Regions from separate parts of the Homo sapiens genome. Here all the other regions are linked to region 1. Evidence: promoter capture Hi-C in 16 types of primary human blood cells and fetal thymus (Javierre and others, 2016). All regions are on one chromosome and are shown on one strand. The core of a region is centred on a gene start or on the middle of the fragment in contact, and the rest is flanking DNA. Distances in the headings are between cores, read along the strand shown.

What was found. Contacts are between HindIII fragments. The CHiCAGO score rates a contact against its expected background, and 5 or more counts as called.
Region 2: a fragment that was not itself captured here is called in contact with the fragment with the promoter of RNF141 in region 1 in 2 of 17 cell types (total B cells and naive CD4 T cells); the score reaches 5.9 in total B cells.
Region 3: a contact is called between a fragment that was not itself captured here and the fragment with the promoter of RNF141 in region 1, in 1 of 17 cell types (M1 macrophages). The highest score is 5.3, in M1 macrophages.
Region 4: a contact is called between a fragment that was not itself captured here and the fragment with the promoter of RNF141 in region 1, in 15 of 17 cell types (monocytes, naive B cells, total B cells and 12 more). The highest score is 17.0, in monocytes.
Region 5: a contact is called between a fragment that was not itself captured here and the fragment with the promoter of RNF141 in region 1, in 1 of 17 cell types (naive B cells). The highest score is 5.1, in naive B cells.

The regions. Positions count from the first base shown.
Region 1 is chr11:10,537,858-10,543,343 of GRCh38, reverse strand. RNF141 (ring finger protein 141) reads left to right here and starts at 2,157. Exons shown (of 6, transcript NM_016422.4): 1 at 2,157-2,222. It overlaps IRAG1-AS1 (IRAG1 antisense RNA 1), which reads right to left and starts at 2,108. Exons shown (of 4, transcript NR_046375.1): 1 at 1,802-2,108. RefSeq lists an enhancer at 1,972-2,081. The HindIII fragment of the contact is 4,708 bases long and covers 946-5,486 here.
Region 2 is chr11:10,752,682-10,758,066 of GRCh38, reverse strand. CTR9 (CTR9 component of Paf1/RNA polymerase II complex) reads right to left here. Exons shown (of 25, transcript NM_014633.5): 2 at 5,297-5,385; 3 at 2,870-3,109; 4 at 2,272-2,389; 5 at 1,229-1,318. Among named protein-coding and RNA genes, the nearest start is that of CTR9, 4.1 kb to the right of the region's middle. The HindIII fragment of the contact is 5,641 bases long and covers 1,315-5,385 here.
Region 3 is chr11:10,705,158-10,710,145 of GRCh38, reverse strand. No RefSeq gene overlaps it. Among named protein-coding and RNA genes, the nearest start is that of IRAG1, 14 kb to the right of the region's middle. The HindIII fragment of the contact is 613 bases long and covers 2,175-2,787 here.
Region 4 is chr11:10,730,554-10,735,489 of GRCh38, reverse strand. No RefSeq gene overlaps it. Among named protein-coding and RNA genes, the nearest start is that of CTR9, 18 kb to the left of the region's middle. The HindIII fragment of the contact is 7,606 bases long and covers 1-4,936 here.
Region 5 is chr11:10,686,006-10,691,323 of GRCh38, reverse strand. The region is part of intron 1 of IRAG1 (inositol 1,4,5-triphosphate receptor associated 1); the gene reads left to right. Among named protein-coding and RNA genes, the nearest start is that of IRAG1, 5.1 kb to the left of the region's middle. RefSeq lists an enhancer at 2,863-2,912. The HindIII fragment of the contact is 855 bases long and covers 2,880-3,734 here.

The sequences.
Region 1 (5,486 bases), core at 908-3,407:
ATAATGTATCTCTATTTATTTAGGTCTTCTTTAATTTCTCTTAACAATGTTTTTTATTTTATTTTAGATTCAGGGGGTACACGTGTAGTTTTGTTACATGGGTATATCGAACAATGCTGAGGTTTAGGCTTCTAATGATCCAGGTCACCCAAGTGGTGAACATAGTACCCAATAGTAGTTTTTTCTACCCTTTTGGAATCCCCAGTGTTTATTGTTCCCAACTTTGTGTCTGTGTACTCAACGTTTAGCTCCTACTTATAAGTGAGAACATGCGGTATTTGGTTTCCTGTTTCTGCATTATTTTGCTTAGGACAATGGCCTCCAGCTGTATTCATGTTGCTGCAAAAGATATGATCTAGTCCTTTTTGTGGTTGTATAGTATTCCATGGCGTATATGTACCACACTTTCTTTATCCAATCCACTATTGATAAGCACCTGGGTTGATTCCATGTCTTTGCTATTCCATAATATTTTATAGTTTTCAGTATACATGTCTTTCTCATCTTTGGTCAAATTTGTCCCAAATTTGCTGCTTTTTTTTTTTTTTTTTTTTTTGCTGATAAGAGATATTTAAAAATTTTCCATTTCTAATTGTTCATTGCTAGTATATAGAAATACAACTGATTTTTGTATATTTGATTTTGTATCTTGCAACTTTTGTAAACTCACTTATGAGTTCTAGCAGCTTTTTTGTAGTATTCCACAATTTTCTTATGCAAATAAATGCAGTGCTACAACTTCCTTTCCAACTTGGATGCCTTTTATATATTTGTCTTTTTTTATTTCATTGACCAGAACTTCCAATACAATGTTTAATTGAAGGCAATTTTTACAGAGTAATATTTCTAACTCCCAGGCCCGGATTAGGCTGAACTATGGAATCTTGTTGAATTTGATATCTTTTGGAATTTATTAAATCATTATTTATACTTCATTTTTAAGCTTTTTCCTTTTCCAGTGTTCAAATATTCATCAAATGTTCAAATATTGAACAAGTACCATGCTGGCTGTCAGGGAAATAATGGTGCACAAACAGGCATGGACCTAGCGCTAATGAAGTCTTACCGTACTACCGAGGCAGTTTAAAACAGGAATTAAAAACACAGGTTCAGGGTTCTGTCTGCTTGGGTTTGAATCTGGCTCTGCTCCTTAATGGTTGTTTGACCTTGGAAAAGTTAATCGACTTTTCTAAGCCTGTGTCTTAGTGAAGGTATTAATAATACCTACTCACAGGATTGCTGTGAAGATTAAACGAATTAATACCTTTAAAGTCCTTAAAATACGGTTTGACATATAGTAAATGGTCAAAGAGTATTATTATTAGAGGGAAGAATTAGCTCTTCACAAGGTGAATCTACAAGTGACTGGTGAAGGAGGGGTGTACAAACAAGAAACATAAAAACCAGTTTAACTGCTAAGCATAGAGGCAGCAGTGTCAGCTGTACCTGGGTTAAAATCCTTGCTCTGCTGTTTATTGTCTAGGCAACTTTGACCAGACGACTTAAACAAGAGCAATGCCCGTAAAGTGCCTAGTGCAGTATTTGGCACACAACAGATGCTTAAAAGACAGCAATTACTGATTCAGACGTCCCGCAGAGCAGTAATATCACTAACATGTGCTCATCATCATATCTATCATTTATCAAAGCTCAGGATTTTGAACCTTGTAATTACTTTTCATACATTCTCTTATGCTTAACAACTCGGCTAGGTGAACACAATCCATTGCCTCATAAAGAAACAAGATGACCTTTGTGTATCTATCATCAGTGGGGAGGCTGGAGGTCTGGGAAGTGGTACCTTGGAGCCCAACTGTTGACCAAACCAGGGCTCTCAGTGCGGCCTTGGTCGCCAGCGGGGCGCTCCACTTTCCGCTCCGGAGATGGCACCAGGAGAGATGGGAGTCTGCCAGGCTGTTTCCATGGCCACCTCATGAAGCCCCTGCTCCGGGAGCGTGACAGGCGAGACTCTCCTTCGCCGCCACCTCTCGTCTCAGATGACCATCTGGGCTCGAAAGCCCTCAGGAGCTGCGGAGCGCGGGTCGGTAGGGGCGCTGCAGAGGAAGGTTGGGCGCCGTCTCCCGGCAACGCGCGGGGGGCGGGGCTTTGCGTCACAGAGGTGCGACCGGGTCCCGGCCTGAGTCGCGGCCACCCGCAGGTCTGAGCTGTGGGCTGAGGCAGCGCAGCCGCTGCCGCAGGGTGCGCGATGCCTTGAACCTGGGGTGAGCTCCGCGGCGCTGTCCTTTCGTGTTTCCCTTGCTAGCTGCTCCAGGACTCTGGGTCTGGGAAGAGAAACCCCAGAGGGCCCTCCGCTGCCGAGCCAGGCTTCCGCGGGGAGACAGGCCTAGCCCCGCCGCCCTCCCCGGGCCTCGGATTGGGGCGTGGGGACGGCTGGGGAGGCCATTCTATTGACGCCCGTCTTCTGCCCGGCGGGTTCCAGTTGCCCGGGGTGGCGGTGGCTTGTCCCGCCTCGGGGTGGTTCTGAGGGACCCGGAGAGAGTTTTTCCTTCTCTATCCCAAAACGGTTGTTTGAATATTGCCGCCGGCTCAGTCATTCGGCCGCCGGACTTAGCTGTTGGTTAAATGTCCAGGTGCGCTTGAGGAGGGGCTGAGGCGGCGTAGCCAGAGCGAGCGCTAGGGTGGCCCGCGGGCTCGGTCTCCGCCGGGCTGGACACCCAAATAAGAAACCTTTTGCCTGGGACGATAGCTCAGAAATAGCCACGTCGATCTACTTAGCCAGCCCCACACTTATGAATTGGCTTAGGCTGCTACCCTTCCCAAAGGTCTTTCCTTGTCAAACTAGCTGCTACCTTGAGACCCGGCTAAGAAAAGAACGTTTTCTTGCTAATAATAAGAAGGTAGTGATTACACAGCAGGAGCAGAAGGCTTCTGTGTTAGCTTTTGAAATTATTCCTTCAGTTATTTGTCTCGGCGTTACAAAATGTGGATTTACGATTGTTATTGAAATCGATCCCTATGCCCCTTATTAAAGGTAGTGTACCTTTTATATTCTGACACTGTCCTATTTAGCGGTGCCAGCTAATTCAGTTCTTGCCTCTGGCATATATATAAAGCTGCTGGAACACTTTCAATTGTTTATAATTCTTACATCTTCAGCACGAATTTATTCGTTTTCACTCCCTTCTGCCCATTCTTCTTGCTATAAAATGACCTCTACCCATTCAGAATTTTGTCTGGGGGCATGAGCTGCCACCGGCCGACGATCCTAAATTAGTCACCTCCATGTCGAAGTCACCCGTCTGAGAAGTGATGCTTTCTGAATTCAGAGCTCAAAAATAGTATGGATTTTTATCCTTTTCTTTCACATTGCCTGACTTCAGTTTCTAGAACTTTTTCTCAAGAATATGACTATATGTTTCAAAAATTAATATTTGTCATTTGGTGTAAATGAACTTTATATTCGATGTGTGTAGCCTGATCCTTCTTGGTTCCCATCTAAATACAAACACGCTTTCCTTCCCAAAAAGGCAAGGGAGGTCCAGAGAGAATTCTTACAAGTCTAATATGCTTTTTCCAATATGAAATGCATTTAGTAAACACACTGTTACTGTGAGAAATCCATATTCTTAATCTCCTAGTACGGCACTCTATCCTTTTGTAGTTTCTCTCTCCTTCTCTCTCTAATATATATGTATGTATCTTTTTCTGATCAAGATCTTTGATTCTGGAACAGGCATTCTGGACTCTATAGTGACTCTGGCCTAATTATTTCACTATGTATCTATATTAACTTGTCTTGAAAAAAAAAAGTTGATATCTGTTTACAGATCTACAGTTTGAGTAAACAATGAGTAATAAAGTAAATAATATCCTTAGGGACCCAGTCAGTAGTACTTGGTATTTATTACTGATGTTAAAGTTGACTTGACAGTGAAAATCATTGATGTTTATTTCAATTAAATCCTTTTAGGTGAGGTTGATACAAAATTTGATGGAGAACTGGTTTCAGAGAGGTTTTTAAAATACTACAGTGCAGTACTTGTCATTTAGTCATTTTGGTGCATTTTCAGCCTTTTCCATTTTGCTTTAGTTATTTTATGAATGAATTATGGTTTAAATTTTTAGGAGTTTTTGAGCAGTTTTTTCGTTTTTGCTTTGCCAGTTACCCATGATGTAATTTTAATATTTTTATAAGGAATATTTGAACTTCCACAATTCATTTGTTAGAAAAATAAGTGATTCACTATGTACCACCCACTAGAGAATGTGGCATTTTTGGAATCCTTGATCTTGTGCATTTCAAAATAACAGTTCTTTATTTAGAAAATCCTTCAAATGCTTTTTGAAAGCATATTTTTATCTTGCAAAAAATGACTGTGTTATAGGTGGCACAATAATATGAGAGCTGCTAGTTCTTTGAGAAATCTTGACCAGAAATTCATCTTTTGTTGAATTCTGTGCCAGTGGTTTGCAAATTATGTTTCTATGCAATACCACTGTTGCATGGCCTAGGGGGGAGTATCTTGTTAAAATCAAATAGTAAATGTTTCCCAGTTTACATAAGCATTAATTTAATGACAGATTTTCACAGTTTTACATTTTCTTTCATACATATTTTTAACTTCTGCTTCTCTCCAACCTAGTACTAATAGATGACTGACCAAATTAACAAAAGTCAAAAGAATACTAAGTGAATAATAATAAAACAAAAACTGCCAATGGTATTTACTGCATTTATTCAGTAAACATCTATTGAGTGCTTGTGTATCTGCCAGAAGACAGACCATAGCTGCTGTCCTCAAGAAGCTCACTAGAGGGAAATGGCCAAGTGACTTAACGAATGTCATAGTATGATAGAAATATGTGCAGTCACCAAAGAGGGACACTGAAAAGCTGTGGTGGTTGACTAGAGGATGGCCTCAACAGATTGTTTTCGTGAACATGCACTCTGTGTTGTGGTTTTATATTGTATGCAGATCACAGAGTCATATCTTATTTTCACACCCATATAGTGATAGATGTTAATATTTATCAATATTTTATGGTTTTCAAAATAAACTAAATGTCAAGCCCTCTTTCTGGAACCAGGTTGAAAACCACTTCTGCAGGCTCTCTCAGGTAGTCTCTAGATACTGTTGCATTTTAATGCAAGGAGTTAGTGATGAAGTTTCCCAGATACCAAGTACAGTTACAAGATAACAAGTTAATATGCTGCCTCAAATTATAAACTTTACTCAAAGTTAGGGCAGCAGATGAAAACAATGCTGAAACAAAGGGGATCATTTTCTATTAATAACTCAATAAATAAGCAACTAACTCTTCTTTTGAAATATGGTTTTGGTGGGTAATGTAGGGTAGCAAAATACGCCACTTTGGCATAAGGATTATTTTGAGTTAAAAGCACATTGAAAAGCAGCAGATGTAAGAAGTGCCCACTGACCCTCCTAATTCTTCCTGAAGGCTGGAGATAAAACAGCCATGTGAAAGATGTCCTCTCTATGCCAGGAGGAAGACATTATCATTAC
Region 2 (5,385 bases), core at 2,886-5,385, 210 kb before region 1:
TTCCAGAAACAATGGCCTCCTTACTCTTCCTTAAACTTACCAGGCACTCTCTTTCCTCTGGACCTTTGTACCTTCTATGCTCTCTCTCTAGGAGTGGTCTTCTCCTATATATCTGCATGGCTGCTAGTTGTTTTTTAGGTCTTCACACAAATGTCACTATCTCTGATGAGTTTCCTTGGTCATCCTTTCTAAGCAATTCCTGATGCTTCTCATACCCTTTTTCTGCTTTATTCTTCTCCTTGGCTCTTACTGGTAGCTTACACATCATACATACTTTACTATTTATCTTGCCCACTGAAAACTGGACTCCATGAGGGCAGGAACTTTTGTCTCTTTGGTTAATTGCTACATTCTCAGGGTTTAGAACACTGCCTGCCACATAGTTGGTACTCAGTAAAAATTTGCTACATGAATGACATTTTGGAAAGAAAAATAGTATAGGGCAAAAAGATTATATTATAATCTACTATCCAGACTTTTTTTTTCTTGAGACAGGGTCTTGGCTCTGTTGCCCAGGCTGGAGTGCCGTGGCATGAACATGGCTCACTGCAGCCTCAAATGCCTAGGCTCAAGTGATCTTCCTGCCTAGCCTCTTGTGTAGGTGCGACCACAAGCACTACCATGTGCGGCTGATTTTCTGTAGAGATGGGGGTCTCCCTTTGTTGCAAAGGCTAGTCTCAAATTCCTGGGCTCAAGCAATCCTTCTACCTCACCCTCCCAAAGTGCTGAGATTACAGGTGTGAACCAGTGCAGCCAGACCCTATCTATTTTTTTTTCCCCTTGAGACAAGGTCTTGTTCTGTTGCCCAGGCTGGAATGCAATGGCACAATGATGGCTCACTGCAGCCTCAACCTCCCAGACTCAAGCGATCCTCCAGCCTGAGCCTCCTAAGGAGCTGGGACCACAGGTGTGTGCCACCATGCTCATGTAACTTTTTTATTTTTTGTAGAGACAGGGTCTTACTACGTTGCCCAGGCTGGTCTCAAACTCCTGGGCTCAAGTAGTCCTGCCTCTGCCTACCAAAGTGCTGGGATTATTGGCATGAGCCATTGCACCTGGCCTTACTATCCAGCTTTTGACTCAAACATAGCATCAAAAAAAAAACTTGATTCTGACATTTCTATAATCCAACAATATCTTTTCATAACTTCATAAGCAACTGACAAATCCTCAATGCTTTAAGCTGGGTAATACACAGTTTAGACATAAAATAAAATTTTTCTCTTACCTGGACATCCTGGGTTAGTACGCAATGCTTTCTTATAGTAAGCAAGAGCTCCTCTGTAATCCTTCTTGTTGAAGGAAATGCAAGCTTTACCTGTAATGATTTTTAAAAATAAACACAGTGTCTGATTAAAGGCTACAAGTCTATTATGTTTTACACTAACTTATCTAAGTTAAATACATCTCTGAGTGAGAAATACTTGAAAACACAGAACAAAATTTCATATTAAAAATTTGTTTTTCATAAAAGTATACTAATTTATGTCTAAAAATAAAACTTCCTATTTTTATGTTAAATGTTATAAAGTTAGCAAACTAACATAGGAACAGAAAACTGAATACTGCCTGTTCTCACTTATAAGTGGGAGCTAAATGATGAGAACACATGGACACAGAGGGGAACATCACATACTGGGGCCTTTTGGAGGGTGGAGGGTGGGAGGAGGAAGAGGATCAGGAAAAATAACTAATAGGTACTAGGCTTAATACCTAAGTGATGAAATAACCTGCACAACAAACCCCCATGACCAAGTTTACCTATGTAACAAACCTGCACTTGTACCACTGAACTTCAATAAAAGTTTAAAAAATGTTATAAAGTAATAATTGAAATAACTTTAAGTTGTCTAAGTAGAGATTGTTTATTGGCTCTTCAGAAGTGTATAACCAATTACTCTTTTTTGAAAAAATTATTTTTTGTAGAGATGGGGTCTTGCTATGTTGCCCCAGCTCGTCTTGAACTCCTGGCCTCAAGTGATCCTCCTGCCTCAGTCTCTCAAAGCGCTGGGATTACAGGTATAACGAGACAGGGTCTCAAAGTGCTGAGATTATACCATGCCTGGCCTAAATAATAAATTATTCTTAACTGGTATATATTTTATTTCTACAATTTCAACAATATTTGTTGTAGGTAATTTCATTTGTAACAACATAAAGCTCTTCTACTTTGCTGTCTAGCTGAGTTATTAAGGAGCTATTACCAAGAGATATATTCTAGGCATATGCTGAAAACAACTGTTTCCTAACATGTTGCCAAAGACCACTTACCAAGAAGGGCTGGAATATTATTTGGAGACTGATTGAGTACAAAATGAAACTGTGCATCAGCTTGATCCATTTTGTCACCCTCAAGTAGGCAGAAGCAGGCTCTTCCCAACAAATGGTTCTATGAAGTAATGTATTATCTTAGATTTTACCCCTATATACCATGAACATGTAACACTAAAGTGAAAACCAAATAGGAAGGAGGTGGAGCACAGTGCAAATTCCCCTATCAAATGTAACGTGCTTAAGCTACTAACAAGCAATTCTTAATTACAAAATAAGAAATTATCCTGAAATGTAAGTCTTCTGTGCCAATAACAACAACCAAAAGAAAAATTTAAATTCCTTAAAATATCCTTGAAATTCACCTGGAGATAATAAAATTACTGGAGCAAGTTTTATGTACTACATTTGTCCATATTACTTAAACAGTACAAAAACCAAAGCATTCCGATTTTAATGAGGAACCTTTCTTCTTTTTGACTCTATCAACCATGTTACTTGAAGAAAAACTCTTTCAAAAAATCTGCTATCACACACATTTTGCTTTCATGTGCTTTTCTCCCTTCATAAATGGAAAGAAATTTGACTTTATTTTTACCTGATCATACATAATAATTTTATCGGCCATTGTATACAACAAGGTGGCCTGTGTAATAAGATCCTTTTTATTGTCCTTATTCTTTTCTTTCCGAGCCTGTTGTACATAATACGCTGCCAATGTATCCAAGCAAGTCATCTGGTCTTTTTCATGGTCTCTATAGTCCAAATTGCCATCTATACGTGCTGCTTCCAACAATTTTACAAACTCTTCTGTTTTTCCTTGCTTGTAGTATTCCAGCTATAAGGTAATGAAACAAATTAGAATCACTAAAGCATATGTCCATATAAAAAGTTGTACACAAATGTTTACAGCAGCTTTATTTGTAATAACAAAAAACTGGAAACAATCAAAATGTTGATTAACAGGTGAATGGATAAACAAGCTGTGGTGTATCCATAAAATGGATACTATCCTACAATGAAAAGGAATGAACTACTGATACATGCTACAACATGGATAAATCTCAAAATAATTATGCTGAATGAAAGAAATCAGACCAAAAAAAGAGTACATATTGTGTGATTCCATTTATATAAAACTCTAGAAAATGTAAAACAATCTCTAGTGTCAAAAAGCAGACCAGTGGTTGTCTGGCACAGGGATTAGGGGTGGGGTGGGGGACTTGTGGGGAGTGGTACAGAGGACACTTTCAGAAGGTGATGAATGTATTCATTAATCTTGATTGTGGTGATGGTTTCACAGGTATATACAGATGATAAAACTTATCAAATGGTAAATGTCAAATATGTGCAGTTTATTATAAATCCATTAGACTTTAATAAAACTGTTTAAAAAACTGGAATCATTCACAATGTTCCCAATCTGCTGCTTATCTAGTTGATTTCTAACTAAAATTTTCAGATAAGTAGAGCCTAAGAGAGAAAACAATAGTGAAAGATATGAAGAATTCTAAATAGAAAACTTGGGTTCTGGTTCTAGATCTACCAAAAATTATCTGTGATTTGGGCCTGTTTAACAACTTCTCTAGGCATCTGTTTGACTTATAAATAATAAAAGAAATATCCACTAGGTGTGGTGGTATGTACCTGTAATCTACTACTTGGGATGCTGTAGTGGCAGGATGGCTTGAGCCCAGGAGTTTGAGTCTAGCCTGGGCAAAATAGAGAGACTCTGTCTCTATGTGGAATATCCACCACTTATTAACCACTGACTATTGGTCACATACCATGAAAGGAATTTCATACACATATTCTCTAATCTGTACAACCACTCTATGAGGTAGATGCTAACATCTCTATATTTTAAATGAGGACATATGCTCAGAAGTTAGATCATTTGTCTAAGGTCACATAGCTAGTTAGCAGCCATGCCGGGACTTGATCTAACCCCAAAGCCTACATTCTTTTCCCTGTAAAAATCTATATCCCACAATGTGTCATTAATTTATTCTACTACAGGTGCCATGCTAATCCTCCAATATTCTAATTTTTGTTTAAGTGCTGTTAAGGAGGGCATATGTACTTAAAAATATATATATATATAATATATATTATATATACATCTAAATTACCATCTGGTTTTAAAAAAAATGTGTGTGACAAGGAGGCTTGGTCTCCATGGAATAAGAAAAGTTGGCACTTCAAGTCAAGAAGGCACTGCTTGTCACTGAAAATACTTCTCTGTAAATCCACATCTAAAAGGAAGAAACTCTTAGAGCAGTCTTGAGCACTGGATATAAGCCCAATTCCAGACCTATTTCTCTGACTCTTCAAGACAATATTAGGAGCCTCTTCTGTATGTTTGTATGAAAGCAATGTGGCATATCTACTTAGGAATAATGACTGTAACATTTATATTACCTATTCCTATAAAAAGAAAACATCATTATGCAGCTGATGCTGGCAAGTAGAGGATATAGAATTTTAGGGTTTCTGATTGGATTTTCTTGAGAATCTCCAGTAAGATTCACATTGAAGGAGACTAAATAGGACAAAAAACATAAGTCTGAGATAAACTTCACCCAAAAGAACTTTTGTGATTTTGGGTGAAGTGATTTTCCCAGAACCTAATCACATTCTAGAATATTTTAAGGGAAGTGTTTTGTTGTTATAGGAAACAATGTTAAGCAGCAATGTTCACACAGAAGCACTTCGCTTCTTTTCAGCTTATCTATAAACCATAAGCCAGCCTTCACTGAACAAGCACTAAATAATAAAATATTCAATATAGAGTACTACTTAAATGAATTTTGCCTTTACCAACATATACTAATTCACCAGTAGAGCAGCATATCATTTAGGAAAACGGCCTTATTGTTCCATAAATTATTAACACAATTAACTTCCATACACATGGTATAACTAATCTACCATGCAGCCAAGCTGGCTATTACTATATCTGAAAACAGAAACTACATATTTTCCTAGTCAACAAATAAAAAATATTTGCTACATGAATACTGACCGCCAAAGCAATCCATATGTGCAGTTGTGTGTGTTCCTGTTTCAGAATACTGATAACTTCATCTCCCTCCGGTAACTGATCGAAGTCAA
Region 3 (4,988 bases), core at 1,232-3,731, 170 kb before region 1:
ACAAATCTGCTTACAAAGCTTCTTTTGGGTTTGCTCTTTAAAAGTAATATGTGCACTTTTTAACTTCAAAGACTTTTAAAAAGAAAAAAACACCCAACTCTGGGCTGTGGAAGAAGGCCTCGTGGTGCAGGCATTGAACCAGCAAGGCCAGTGCATCTGGAGATCAAGTTCCTTTTAGGATTAGTGAAATCGAGCTTTTGTTAGCATTCATCTAATGGTGGAATGTCAACGTGAAAACCTCAGAAATCCTTTTCTGCTCCACATCTCTTTCTTTTTTCCATTTAACAGAAAAACTATGTGAAGCCAGAAGGGAGAATCTGAGAAAGATTTGACTCTTCCTTAGTGAGATAAACAATCTGTTGTGTCATGGCACCAGCATAAAAATCCTGTGTTTGAAGAACAGGCTGAAACACAGTGTTTCTCAGGATAGTTTAGGAAAGGGCAAAGTAGGGATAGCTCAACTCCTGTGATAAAGATCTTAGGGTCTCAGTGGACCATAGATTTCCCATGAGCCAAGTAATGACATGGCTGATACAAGAGCAAACACAATCAAAGTAGTCTAGTGTACTGGCCATAGGAAATCAGAATCCCCTGAATAAAGAGGATGCTGGTTGGATGACACAAGCAGTCCACGATGCTATTCCAGGCATTGCATTATGAGAGGGACTTTGGCAAAGTGTGTGGTGTTCAGTGGAAGAGACCCGCATGGGACAGGTTTTAAACAAACAACAGGAGTTTGGCTTCAGCTGGAGCCTTGGGCATGCTGTAGTCACTGTCTTTAGATATTTGCCAGGGAATGAGGGAGATTGGTTCTGTATTACTCCTTAGAGAGAACTAAAGGAGAGAAAGTGACATAGAAGTTTTTATGGTTGGAATGGGCTTAACATAAAGGAATGAGCTCTCTCGCCCTTTCTCTCAAATGGAGGATAAGTTAATCAATAGTCAGGGATGCTGTAGAGCAAAGACTTTTAGGTGCGGGCCAGTGGATGAGCCTCAGGAGGTCTGTAAATCCCATGAAAGCACAGGCCAAATGGTATAGGCATGTGTGTATTTTTCTGGGGAGGAGATTCATAGCTTTTTGTCAGATTCTCAGAGTTATGGGACCCTAAAAATGTTAAGAAGGTCTGCCACAGCAAATACCTGTAAGCTGCAAGGTTTGAACCCTGTGGTCTCCTTAGACTAAGTTCAATGGTTTTAACTAGCTTGAATAACCCCCATTCCCTGGCTGAGTGGTTCTGTGGAAAGAACATTGACTTTGCAGTTGGACAGATTTCAATTTGAATTCTAGCTCAGCTACCTTCTACTTTTGTGACTGGGCAAATTGCTTAACTTCTCTTCAGTGTCTTCATTTGTAAAATAGGAATAATAAAATCAATCTCACTGGGCCATTAAATCACATAATGCAGGTCACCTGGCACAGTTCTTAGCTCATACCAGGAGCTTAGTAAATGCGAGGTCCTTTCCTCGCTCCTTTTCTCTAACATATTTTATTGCCTATCCCACCTACGGCCACCCTGTTTATCACGTGGTCCAAGATATGGCTATCTGGTCAGAGAGGGATATCTGCCTTAAAGGTAGCTAGTAACTTTGGAGACTTGGCTTAAACAGACAAACCAGGTCTTTTTTTTAATCTGAAACAGGAGATAGCTGTCAGAGGGTCGGGGCAGGAGAAGGCTAGAGCTGAGAGGCCATGATGGGCCATAGCAATGTGAGTGTGCAGAAAAAGCCGGAGAAGAGGTAGGAAGAGGAGGAGGAAGAGGAGGAGGAGGAGGAGGAGAAAATGGATTCTCAGAGAGAAGGGGGAGAGAGAGAGAGATTACATGGCCTGTGAGATCACATGGTGTGTGGGAGACAGGGACGCAGACATTCACACAGATTAACAGAGTAAGGGCTTCAGTTCCTGACAGCCCTCTGCTCCCTCAAGGTCTGGGTGTACTTAATTACCAGTCCTGGGTTCTGTGGGGGTTCAGTTATCATTGGCACAGGCCCCTTTAACACTTGAGCCAGCCAGAGTTGATTTCTGTTCTTTGCAACTCAAAGAATCCTGCACTCTCCCCATCAATTCTGCTATTGGGTCCAGCAGAGTCCGCTCACCCAGCTGGCCCAATCTGGAATCCCTTCCTCCTCCCTTGATTTTCCCTATTCAACTCAACACTCAAGGCCCCACTGAAGCTTCTCCCTCTGTCATGAAGCCATTCCTGACCACTCCGGGAGCCAGAGACCTCTTTTTCCCAGAAGCTCCGCTTCTACAGCTTCTGAGCTTCTACAGCTTTTGTAGCATTCCCAGCCCTGCCCCATCTTCGTATGGGCAGGCTGGGTAGAGGTTTCCTTGTGGGCAGAGTCCATACCTCATTTCATCCTTGCCTGGCCTGGTCTGTGCCTAGAACCAAGCAGAGCCCAGCAGGCAAGTAGCCATTGGCTCTATTCACTCAGACCCCAAACTGGCTGCACCTGGGCCTCTCCTCTTACTTAGCAAGGATGTGATTTCAATTCCTGTGTTCCCATGCTGTTTCTGGTGTTCTTGAGGTGTTCCCTCTGGTGTTCCCTATTGACTCATTTTCTCCATGCACAATTCAGCTCAGATCTCCCTTCAAAGACCTGGAACCTATCTCTCCATGCCCAGTAACTAGATTTTTTATTCTTCCCAGTTTAATTCAGCCAACATTTTCACTTAACATGTATTAGATGTTAAACTAGGCACTGGGGCTATTGCATCAGGAGGCAGTGTGAGCCACTGGTTTTGGGTGCTGGTTCTAGAATTTGACTAACTGAATTAAAATCTAAGCTTGCATTCTGACAGCTGTAACCTTGGTCAAATTACTTATCATCCCCAACCCTTAGTTTCCTCACCTTTAGAATGGGTTGATATTCATAACAACAACATGCCTGCCTTGTAGGGCTTTAGTGAGGATCGGATGAGATTATCCATATGAGGGGCTTAGCCCAGTGCCTGGCTCATAATAAATAATCAATACATCACTGTTGTCATTGCTGTTACTATTATTATTATAAAGATGCATTGCCTGGGTCCTTATCTTTGAGGACCTCACAACCAGGTAGAGGAGGCAGAAAAGCCCCAATATTAGGCCACTGACCATTGTCCATGTAAAATAATAATAATAATAATAATAATGAAAGAAAAAAAAATAAAGTTCTAACATCAGACGATAGGTGTGCAATACTGAGTTTCTCTTTGGTGTGCTCCAGCATTCTCATGGGCTACGAATGGGGTAAAGACAGGCTGAGATACTGATTCCTATCTGTTCTTTGAATGTATTGGTAGGGTGTGGGGCTACCACAATCCCCAGCTGACCACCTGCAGCCATGAACAGTCTTGTTCACTCACCCTTGTGAGCAGGTAGACAGCCATGGAAAGCTCTGCTGTAATGATGTGTGTGAGCACAGGGTGCAGGGGAGCTCAGAGGAGGGAACAAACTCATCTACCACACTTCTCCAAAGAGCAGTGCTGCCTGCTCTGAAATCCTCACCTGGCTTCCACCTCATTTCGGGACTTCTAGGTCTCCCTGGTATCACAGTTCATCTTACATATATGACAGTCCATGGTTGCTCAGCGAATGATGAAGTGACCCTCACAGCCTTCACCTCCATGACCTCACGAAACCCACCGGTCTACTGACAAGGCTTTCTAAGGTCTGATAGCTTGTTTGCAATCCTCATCTCCTGGGCTCCCTGCAGTACTCTACAGGCCACCTCCTCCTCTTTTCCATGTACTGACAGCAACTTCCTGTCTCTTGCCAGTTTTTTACTGGCTCCTCATTTTTTGGTCCTCTGTGTTGATTTTCCCCTTTCTCTCTTTCCAAGCCTTTATTATGTCCTCTCTCTCTCTCTTTCTCTGTCTTTCTGACTTTCTTCCCTTAGCTCTCTTTTCTCTTACACCCACCCTAATCAGTTTACAAAGGCCTGTGACTGAAAGCTCTCCTAGAAGTCCATACTTCTGAATTCGATGTCACCAGTCTGCACCTCTCTTAAGCCACAATCCTTGTCACTCTGCATTTCTAACCATTTGCTGGGCCTCTCCATCTGGGCCTCCCACCAGCATTTCAAACTGAACTCATATCATCCTTAACCAATGCACTCCTGCTCCTGGCTTCCTCAGGGCATTAACTTCTCTCTACCTGTCCAGAGATCAAAACTTTGGAGTCACTCACTCTGTTCTTCCCATTTCCCACAAGCAGTTAGGGCACAAGTTTCTTGAGTCTCTCTCTCATCTGCCCACCTCATCACTGTTGTTCCCACTTCTCTGTGGAGCTTCACATGTTCAACTGTCCAAGTGTCATCTCTACTTGGATGTTTCACAGTCAACCAAACTTAACATGTCCAAAATAATACTCTGAGTCCATTACTCCTGTGTCCCCGGCTCGCTCCTCCCAGGCTTTCTCATCTCAATAAATGATTTTACTTTACATCAGTTGCTCAACTGGTCATCCTGGATATCCTTTTATTTCCTGAGGGCCACATCTTTATGGGGTATTTCAGGAGCGCCCAGGCTAATGTTCAGCCCATCCACCCCACCATGGCTATGAATTGTTCAAATATTAAGGTACTTCCCTGCCAGTTGCATATTGCTGCTGCCCTGAGACCTCTCCCTATCACCCCAGTCACCCTGGCCCCTTCCCTAGGATTACCTGGACCTTGTCATAGTTTGGCAACTGAAGGATTGATGCCTGGTACTGCTGGGGACTTCCAGGACCCAGCTCTAGCAGGACAGTCACTGTTACCCATACTTAGTGGCTAGTACCCCGGCCATAACAGTTGCCAACTTTCTTGAAGGCAATCCCCAGTGTTACTGATTTTGAAGATGAGGAAACTGACCTTGGAGAGGTTAATTAATTTTTCCATAGTTCCCTGGAGTCTGTCTGGCTCCAAAGTCCACTTTCTTTCCATGGCATTTTACAATAATCCCTTGACTTGTCCCCTGCCCTAGAGCAATCTTCTCAAAGCCCAGCTCATATCAGACACTTTCTCGG
Region 4 (4,936 bases), core at 1,612-4,111, 190 kb before region 1:
ATTGTCAGAAATGATTTTCTAGGTTTCTTATGCTCTCTGAATGGATTTCCTTTCTCTTCTCCTTTTTCGTTAGGAAAGTTGTTAAAATTTCCACCCTATCATCTATGCTTAGGGGAAAAGGGATTTTGCTCATAAACGGGGGCGAGGGTTGGGGGATGGGGGAGACCCTTGGGGGCCAGCAAGGTGGTAGCAGCAGAGTCAGAATGGAAGGCCCCAACAAGAATTATATAATGGACAATGGGGACTGGTGGGGGTGGAGGGAAGGTTGGGAGGGGAGTAGGGATAAAAGACTACATATTGGGTACAGTGTACATTGCTGGGGTGACGGGTGCAATACAATGTCAGAAATCACCACTGATGGACTTATCCATGTAACCAAAAACCGCCTATACCCCAAAAACTATTGAAATAAAATAAAATAAAATAAAATTTTAAAAAATAATGCAAGGCACACTTAGTCCAGCATATGGTCTTCTCAACTAATACAAACATACACACACACTTATATGCACAATCACAACATACATGCTTACACAGTCACATCATGTGTACAATACACTCTCATACCCACAAACACACACCTCACACACTGACACATCACACATACACACTGACACAACACAATACACCCACACCCACACCCACACTGAAGAAGGGTCTTTGGGGTGAATATCTGCAGTTGCCATTGCAGGTTCCCCCATCCTATTGTGGTTTAAGTCTAGGATCAAACCAACTCTTAGTTTCAGGGGTCAGTTCCAATTGGCCTAAACCCATCAACATAATCCCTGCCCCCTTGGCATTCCCTTGGCCACTGCGATTGTTTTAGGGGTGGGCATACAACCACACTGATCCCCCAGACATGAGTGAGGAAGCGCTGAGCCCTGGACGCTGTCAGCTGCCTTGTGCTACCTCAAGGAAAGGCTGGTTTAGAAAAAGCTGACTGGGAGGCAGAGGTGAGAAACTTTCAGACAAGCAGAGTTGCAGCCCCCAAAACACTGGGAGCTCTCAACAGCCCGTGCCAGAAGCCCACGTTACCTCTAAACTTTAGATTTTGTAAACCAATACATTGTTTTGGTTGTTTAAGGCATTCAAGTTGGATTTTCTTTCCCTTCCTCCCTTCCTTCCTTCCTTTCTTTCATCTCACTGTGTCACCCAGACTGGAGTGCAGTGGTATGATCATAGCTCACTATAGGCTCAAACTCATGGGCTCAAGCAATCCTCCCACCTCAGCCTCCTGAATAGCTAGGATTACAGGTGGGTGCCACTGCGCCCGGCCATTTTCTGTTTCTTATACCTGAAAATCTCAGAATGGATCTACTGCTCCCAGAACTTTTTTATGGGAAAGCCCAGGAGGGGTCCAGCCTCCTCTTTAAGGAGGACTGCTCCTTCCTCCCCCTCCTTTGTCCTCTTGGTCCTCAAAGTAACCGCATGCACCTGACACAGTTCTTGGAGCCTTATGCATATAACAGAGAAGAAGAAAATAGTATTTAAAACCATGGCCCACTGTAGCCGCTTTGCCTTAAAAAGGAAAGTGACACAATTGAAATCTGTAACAAATCTCTAAATAGATCTTGTTCCTTGCAGAGGCCAAGATGAGATTCCAGCCAATGTTTGGAAATTTCAAAGAGCAGGAAACCTAGGCTGACATGGTGGCTCTCAGGGCACAGGATTATTATTTATATATATAATATATTCAATTATATCAGTATATATTATATATATTTAAATGTATTCATTTAATGAGTGAATTAAGCACCCTAAAAAGTGAGCATTGCTTTCCCCATTTTACAGATTATGAATGAGGCTCAGAGACAGAATCACCCACTCAGCTACAAAGGGGTGGAACTGGGCTTCCAAGCCAGGGCTTCTTGGCTCTAAAGTTTGTGGTTGCCCTTCCAGAACAGAATGCCATTTGCCACCCCCATAGCGGCCTCCTGCCTGTGATTTGGTCTAGGTGGGCTTCTCGGGAAGGGACATGTTAAAGAGGTAGAAGGCAAGTTTTATTTGTATGTTTACTTAACTTCTCATGTTTAGTTAAACTTTCATGGGAGTGACAGAGGGGGGATGGGGAGAATAGAGAAACTCTTTTTTTTCTGAGACAGAGTCTCACTGTGTTGCCCAGGCTGGAGTGCAGTGGCACGATCTTGGCTCACTGCAACCTCCACCTCTGGGGTTCAGGTGATTCTTGTGCTTCAGCCTCCCGAGTAGCTGAGACTACAGGTGCAAGCCGCCACCCAGCTAATTTTGTATTTAGTAGAGATGGGGTTTTGCCATGTTGGCCAGGCTGGTCTGGAACTCCTGGGCTCAGGTCATCTGCCCACCTCTGCCTCCCAAAGTGCTGGGATTACAGGCGTGAGCCACTGCACCTGGCAGAGAAACTCTTATACCAGGATTCTGATCATGGTAGGAAGGAGAAGCCCAGTGGGCCTTGGAAAGTCAAACTCTGCTGGGGAGGCAGTGTGGCATAGTGCTGGGCACACAGGCTTAGAGCCCAGCTAGACTGAATTCAAGTCCCAGGGCCACGGTGTATTAACCGTGATCTCACACAAGTTAATAAACCTATTAAGACTTGAGTTTCTATTAACCTATTAACTTAATAGGTTAATAAACCTATTAAGACCTTAAAAATGAGACCTACCTCCTAAGGTCTTTGAGGAAATCAAACCAAAAACCACAAGTAAAGCACTTAGCATAGTGCCTAGCATCCCTCAAATGATAGCTGTCATCATACACATTAAAATACATAGTGCTTGGAAGATTCGGAGGCATTCTAAAATCCCCTCCTGGTAAACGTTGCCATGCTCATATACTACGCCATACTGAGAGGGCACGGGAAAGCAGCTCATGCACAGTGCTTTTTTCTGTTTTTGGCGCTTGGGAGCAAGCTGGTGGGAAGTGCGGTGGGCTTCGACTCGGACTACCTCTGTCATTGTCTATTGGTATGAAAGGAGAAGGACCTGCTGACTATACAAAAGACCAGTATCCATCATGGAGACATGAGGACAGAGGGATTGAAATATATTTGGTTTTTCGGTGCCAGGAAGCCTGGCACAGAAGAGCTGGTTCTCAGAGATCCGGGTGCCCCCTATCTCTGACATCTGGCCCAGAAATCAAGCTGGAGGAGGTAGGAAATCTGATCACCATGCTTGGCCAGGACCTGTTCAGAGATTGTCAAGGCTGGGATAGGGGTGCAGGTCAGGTCTGCCCTGGGAGCTGGCTAGAAGGAAGGTGAGGCAGGCAAGGCACTCGGGGCACAGCATTTGAAGAGACACTCACTCTCAGGTGCTGACCCTGCACTTGCATGGGCCAGAGAAGGAGTGTCTTCTTCAATTCTGTGTCCTGGGTACCCCCCCTTGACTCCCTAGCTAGCAGGGAGAGAGAGAGAGAGAAAGAGAGAGAGAGAGAGAAGATGCAAGGAAGATGAAAGTCATAGTCCTTTATAGCCTAATCTCAGAAGTGACACCCCATCACTTTAGTCCTATTATGTTAGAAGCAACTCACTCTGTACAGTACACACACACACACACACACACACACACACACACACATGAGGGGACACACCAAGATGTGACTGTAACTGCCTATTGGGTTCTCCTTGCCTGCTGCCTAGACAGAGCCAATTTATCAAGACAGGGAAATTGCAATAGAGAAAGAGTTTAATTCACACAGAGTCAGCTGTGTGGGAGACCAGAGTTTTATTATTACTCAAAGCTGTCTCCCTGAAAACTCGAGGATTGGGGTTCTTAATGATAATTTGCCGAGTAGGGTGTCGGGAAGTGGGGAGTGCTGATTGGTCAGGTGGGATATGAAGTCATAGGGAGTTGAAGCTGTCCTCTTGCACTGAGTCAGTTCCTGGGTAGGGGCCACATGACTGGATGAGCCAGTTTATCAATCTGGGTGGTACCAGCTCATCCTTTGAGGGCAGGGTCTGCAAAATATCTCAAACACTGATCTTAGGCTTTACAATAGTGATGTTAGCCCCAGGATGCAATTTGGGAAGGTTCAGAATCTTACAGCCTCCAGCTGCATGACTCCTAAACCACAATTTCTAATCTTGTGGCAAATTTGTTAGTCCTGCAAAGGCAGTCTAGTTCCCAGGCAGGAAGGGGGTTTGTTTTGGGAAAGGGCTGTTATCATCTTTATTTCAAAGTTAAACTATAAACTGACTTCCTCCCAAAGTTAGTTCGGCCTGTGCCCAGGAATGAACACGGACAGCTTGGAGGTTAGAAGCAAGATGGAGTCAGTTAGGTCAGATCTCTTTCACTGTCATAAATTTCTCAGTTAAAATTTTTGCAAAGGCGGTTTCATGACTATCCAGATCATCAAGACCATTTCAGAAGTGGCCTACCACAGGAAGGGAGTAGAGGCAAACAATTGGGATTTACTGAGGTCTAAACATGTATGAGGGCATCTCATAATTATCCCATTAGGTTCTTTTTTTTTTTCGAGGTGTTTTACTCTTGTTGCCCAGGCTGGAGTGCAGTGGGAAGATCTCAGCTCTCTGCATCCTCCACCTCCCCACCTCCTGGGTTGGGCTCAAGCGATTCTCCTGCCTCAGCCTCACAAGTAGCTGGGATTACAGGTGTCCGCCACCACACCTGGCTAATTTTTGTATTTTTAGTAGAGATGGGGTTTCACCATATTGGCCAGGTTGGTCTCGAACTCCTGACCTCAAATAATCTGCCCACCTTGGCTTCCCAAAGTGCTGGGATTACAGGCATGAGCCACCGCGCCTGGCCCCATTAGGTTCTCATGTTAGGCTTGTGAAGAGACCGGCCTCTGTTATTCTCTGCACAAAAGAACATCGAGGAAGGTTCTGAGGAATTGAAGCCCACTTGGGAGGCCCATATACGTCTGAGGAAGACAAGTCTGACTTCTCTGAGAAACTACAAGTGGGGGCCCTGAGGTTGGAGCTCAGAGATTAGTCAAGTTTGTA
Region 5 (5,318 bases), core at 2,058-4,557, 150 kb before region 1:
GGAGACCTTATCCCGTTCCTCACCCGTTGTGTGTCTAGCACCCAGAATGCCGGGAGCACACGAAGTGCTCAGGTTCAATCATGTTTCTGTGAATAAATGGACACAATGCTTATAAAGTGGGTTCTGGTTACACAGGGCCCTGGGTTGATTTTGTACATGTGCCTGATGATCAGATTCATCTAGTTTGACCCTAAAGAACACAAGGTGGGGGCCTGAAGTTACCCACCTCTCTCACCCTGCCTCCTCTCCTGGGTCACCTCACAGAGCCTGGACTGCCCCTCAGCCGCTCTCTCTGGGGCTTATTGGTCAGCAGAGGGATTGTTTGCTGACTGAATAGAAGCAGAGGCCTGGGTAGATAGGGAGAAGAGAGCTTGGGGCCCCCAGACTCTGGCCCTGCCCCTGCCCCTTGGGGAGCTGAGTCAGAGGAGGGAGATGGAGAGCTGAGTTCTCAGGTAGTGAATGTAAAAGGAAACGGGAGAAAATTGGTATTAATTGAGCTTCTACTTTGTGCCAGGATCTGTGCTAGATCTGTTATTTAATTTAAGCCTCATGTTAGAGATGAGGAGAGAGGCATACAGCTGGTAGGTGGTGGACTCCAGCTCAAGCCACCTTGGTCCAAAGCGGGCGCTTCCTGCATTAGATGTCACCCTGCCGCTAGTTAGTAACTTAGGTCCTGGGGCAGTTACTGAGTGTCACAGTCCAAATCACAGGAAAATCACGAATAGAGGGAAAGGGGATATCATGTTAGTCCTGTGGACCTTGGAGGCTAGACTCTGAGTTCAGGCGACAGTCCAGGGCAGCCTCACAAATGGGCCTTCAAATTCAGAGTCTTAGCAGAGGTAACTCACGCCCATGACCCTGGACAAGCCCTGCCTTCTCTGCAAGGGCTTTCTCCAAGGGAGGTGGAAAGCAGAGGACAGTTGGTCGGACAGGAAACATTTTTTTTTTTTTTAGACAGGGTCTCGCACTGTCACCCAGGCTGGAGTGCAGTGGTGCAACCCCACCTCCCGGGTTCAAGCAATTCTCATGCCTCAGCCTCCCAAGTAGCTGGGATTACAGGTGAGTACCACCATGCCTGGCTAATTTTTACATTTTTAGTAAAGATGGAGTTTTGTCATGTTGCCCAGGCTGGTCTCGAACTCCTGACCTCAAGTGATCAGCCCACCTCAGCCTCCCAAAGTCTGGGATTATAGGCGTGAGCCATCGCACCCGGCCAGACTGAAAACTTTTCCTAGCGGAGAAGACATGTAAAAAAAGTCTGCTAAGGCTGGGCTTAATCAGCTCTGGTTACTTTCTTCCTATTACTTTTTTATTTGTAATTTGTAATTTCTATTCAGTTTTTTCTAGAAAAAAAAGTAATGCATGTTCTTTGCTAGACTTTCTTGGAAAATATAGAAGTGGATATAAATAAGAAATTCAGAAATAAATATAAAGAAATAAAAAACCCTCTAGAATACCATTCCTCAGTGATAAGTATTGTTTATATTATGGTGTGTTTCTTCCTTTACATTTCTCTATATTTTGTAAAACTAGGATCTTAGTGTATATGCTATTTTTTAGTCTGCTTTTTAAAACTGAGCATTCTAATATAATCCTTTTTCCATATCATTAAAGATTCTCCAAAACATGATTTTTCAATGGTTTTATAACATAGAGTCATTTTAGCCGTGCAACAATTTAATCACTGTTCCTCTTCTTGGCATTTACAAATGTGATTTTTCTTTGGGGACTTTCTCAGTGGCACATGTGACATGATGGCTCTTCCATAGGTTTATAGCATTTGGAGACTCAGCTCTCAGAGGTGGGTTTGTGTGGTGTGGCCCAAGGTGTGAGCTTGTTCTGCAAGATGATCGTATGTGGGATACTGACCCAGCCTTAAACACACAACATCACATTGTAAGAACATTATTCCTTCTTAAGTTCTTTTTATTCCTTTGAATGAAGGAGAGAAAGCCTCTATTTGAGGTAGGTTGACCGACTGTCCAGGGTCAGCCGGGAATGAGAATTGCTGCAGGACTTCCAGTGCTAAAATTGGGACAGGTCCTGGACAAATTCAAAAGGTTGGTCACCCTCATTTAAGCCTCATATGCCTTCACCATCTTTCTGTTTGTTTCCCTTCTTAAAAAAATGAGAGCAGGCCTTAGCTAAGGTTTAATAACCGTTTTCATTTTATTTATTTTTATAACTCTATTTGTGGTAAGTGGTATTGCTTTTTCCATTTAAGGTAGGAATATAAAGTTTCCCTTTTAAATAAAAGTAATGACAATGGTAGCTAACACTTGGTGAGTGTGTACCGTGTGCTAGGCACTGTCCTAATGCTTTACCTGCAGTCGCTCATTCAGTCCTCACAGCAACCCTCTGAAGTAGTTACTGTCATTGTCCTCCTTATACAGATCAGGAAACTGGGGCACAGAGAGGGCAAGAAACTTGCCTAACAACACAAAGTTAGTAAATGGCCAACCGGGGTTTCAGTCTTGATTTTCTGGCCCATTGCTACTCAAATGAAAGAATATTAAGTAAATAAAGGCATAGGTAAAACACAGGCATGGGAAAAATTGTGAGCATAGTGTATAAATGAGTCAGGTCATTCCACCACGGCTTGGTGGAAATCGGGTTGTATGAACTTGGTGGAATCCAGGTATTGGTGAGTGCAGGGTGTTGGGGAAGTTGAGTCATCCCAGCAAAACCAACAGGAATTTAGGAACCAATGGGCTCAATGAGAGAGGCTGAGAGGGATGAGACTATACACTGCACACAGCCTGGCTCTAGGGGTGGGATGTGGTTCCCAGAGTGGCCACCAGGGAAGGGACACAGAGAGGCCACAGAGAGTTCTGTGGCTGATAAGCAAATCAAGAGGGTGTTTCCAGAGAGCCCAAGCTTCCTGGCTCATCAGGAGGAGAAGAAAGCCTGAAGACATTCTTGACTTTGCTCATACAGGTGTGGTGAAAATAACCCCGGGCTCTGAGTCAGGAGGTGGGCTCAGTGTTGGCCAGCTCTTCCCTTATTATCACAGTGGGGAGATGACATCTTGTAATGGAGGCAGCACAGTGTCCCTATGGAAAGTGTGGACCCTGGAGTGACCGTGTGGCTCCACCACTGACCAGCTGTATCCCTTGAGCTGCACCTAATCTGTTGGCGCTTCAGTTTCTTCTCCTGTAATATGGGTTCAGTATCCCTTACCAAAATGCTTGGGACCACAGGTGTTTCAGATTTCACTTTTTTTTTTTTTGGCCTTTGGAATATTTGCATCATATTTACCCAGTTCAGCATCCCAAATCCAAAAATCCAAAATCTGAAATGCTCCAGTGAGCATTTCCTTTGAGTGTCTTGCCAGTGGCCAGAAATTCTTGCATTTTGGAGCATTTTAGATTTCAGATTTTTCAGATTTGGAATGCTCGACCTGTAATGATAGTGTCCATTTTACAAAGTTAAATACCACCCCCCCCCAAAAAAAAGCAAAGCTAAATCCCTTAGCCCACTGTCTATTCTTAGCACTCGGTATACATTAGGTCTTATTATTTCTAGCCCCTGTCTGTTCCCCTCCAGAGATTCCATCAAGAAGACTTCTGCACTGGGTTTGAGGCTCTGACCATCCACAGTCCTGGGTCCTATTCTCAACTCCAAAAACACCGCAAGGAGAGTGGTGGACTTCCTCTCAAGAGGATTGGGCATCTGTGTCTGGTGAAGTCTTTAAGGAGGCCCAATAAATAACACCTCTTTCCTTCACTGAAGCTTTAAGGCTTGTTGGGAATTCAGAGACTAATATCACCCGTATGACTGATGAAGCTGGTGTTGGAAAGTGTTTGGATCAACAGGCAAGTAGGTTTTCTAATATTGCATTGAGCAGATTTATCCCCCAGCCCTAGGGGGTGCCCACTGGGGAAAGTAGGGCTCTTTAAATATTAAAGCTTGGAGAAACAGAGCAGAATGTGTGTCCCCTGAAAGCAGCTAATTCCCTAGAGAAACAGAAGAGGGAGGGCTGAGCTATTCATGCAGGTACTTCTCAGAACTCACCATCAGATAGCCATTCTCTTGGTGTGGAAGAGCGTGGCACTCTGGGGTACCACTATGAGGGCCTGGCTAAAGCCCACTTGCAAGGCTGGTCTCCCATGGGCACCTGGCAAGACTTGTGTCCTGCCCTAGTGAGAGACAGGCAGGGCCGAGGCTGCAGGGGTTGCCACATGGTCCCATGGGCACCCCCTCTCCTCCCTTTTCCAGTTAATCAATCCTCATCTTTTCTCCAGAGATGCCTGGTGGGGAACTTGTTTAATGCAGAGTCCTTCCTTAGACAAGGCAAGCATCTGACTAGAAGTTTCTGCGGCGATGAATTTTCCTTTTTTCACAGAAGTTTCATTTAGGCAACTCCAGACAGGGAGCAAGTGATCTCTTAACTCCTTTCTTCTGGGTTACTTCTTACAGATAGATGAGAAAATATATGGGAAAGGAACTACCATTGTTTGAGCAAGTTTGTATGTGCCAGGCACATTTTATACAATATCTCATCAAATCTGTACTTTAGCCATGCAAGGGAGGTATTTGTGAACAAACTGATTCAAGGAGGATAGTAACTAGTATGAGAAGAATGAGAGTCAAACCAAAACCATCAGACCACCAAGCCCCATCTCTTTCCATCTCTCTGTGGCCTATAGACCTGGCTGCAGGACAGAGTGATAATGCCTGACCCTTTGTTCCTGCCCCTATAAGAACAAAGCCCTGGAGGTCCCAGTGCTGCTGCTCAGAGCTGAGGTCCTGAGCTCTCGGGGCAGGGCACTGGAGCAGCTTCCCCACTAGGCTTGCTCTACTTTGCACTTCTCTTGGTTTCTTTCAGTATGTAATGATCTTTATCAGGTCTCCTAGTCTTGTTTATGAACAAGTTCCTTCCTCTATTTAGAAGGAAAAATACAAATTTAGAATCACAAGCTTTTTACTGGCAAGAAATGCCATGTCCTACATTGTGTGTCTTGAGTCACTTTCTATGGCTCTCCAAAGTTTGTGCCCTAAAAGTCTGTAAATGTTGCCGAGGTCACCCAGTCTGTTCAAATCCCAGCCCCACAACTTACTGTTTGACGTGGGCGAATGATCTAACCTCTGAGTCCCCTTACCTATGAAATGGATTGCTAGATCTAAAGTACTTATACCTGAATAAGTACCCAATAAGTAATTATTATTATTGAAGCCCAGATTAATATTGAGCACATGGGAGTCCTCTATTTTGGATGCCCCCAAATGGTCAGGTTTCCCCAAGGACTCTCTTGTCATATTTTTGACTTGTATGGGTATGGTAGAAAGAATGTAATGTCTTCCTGGGCTTCTTACCT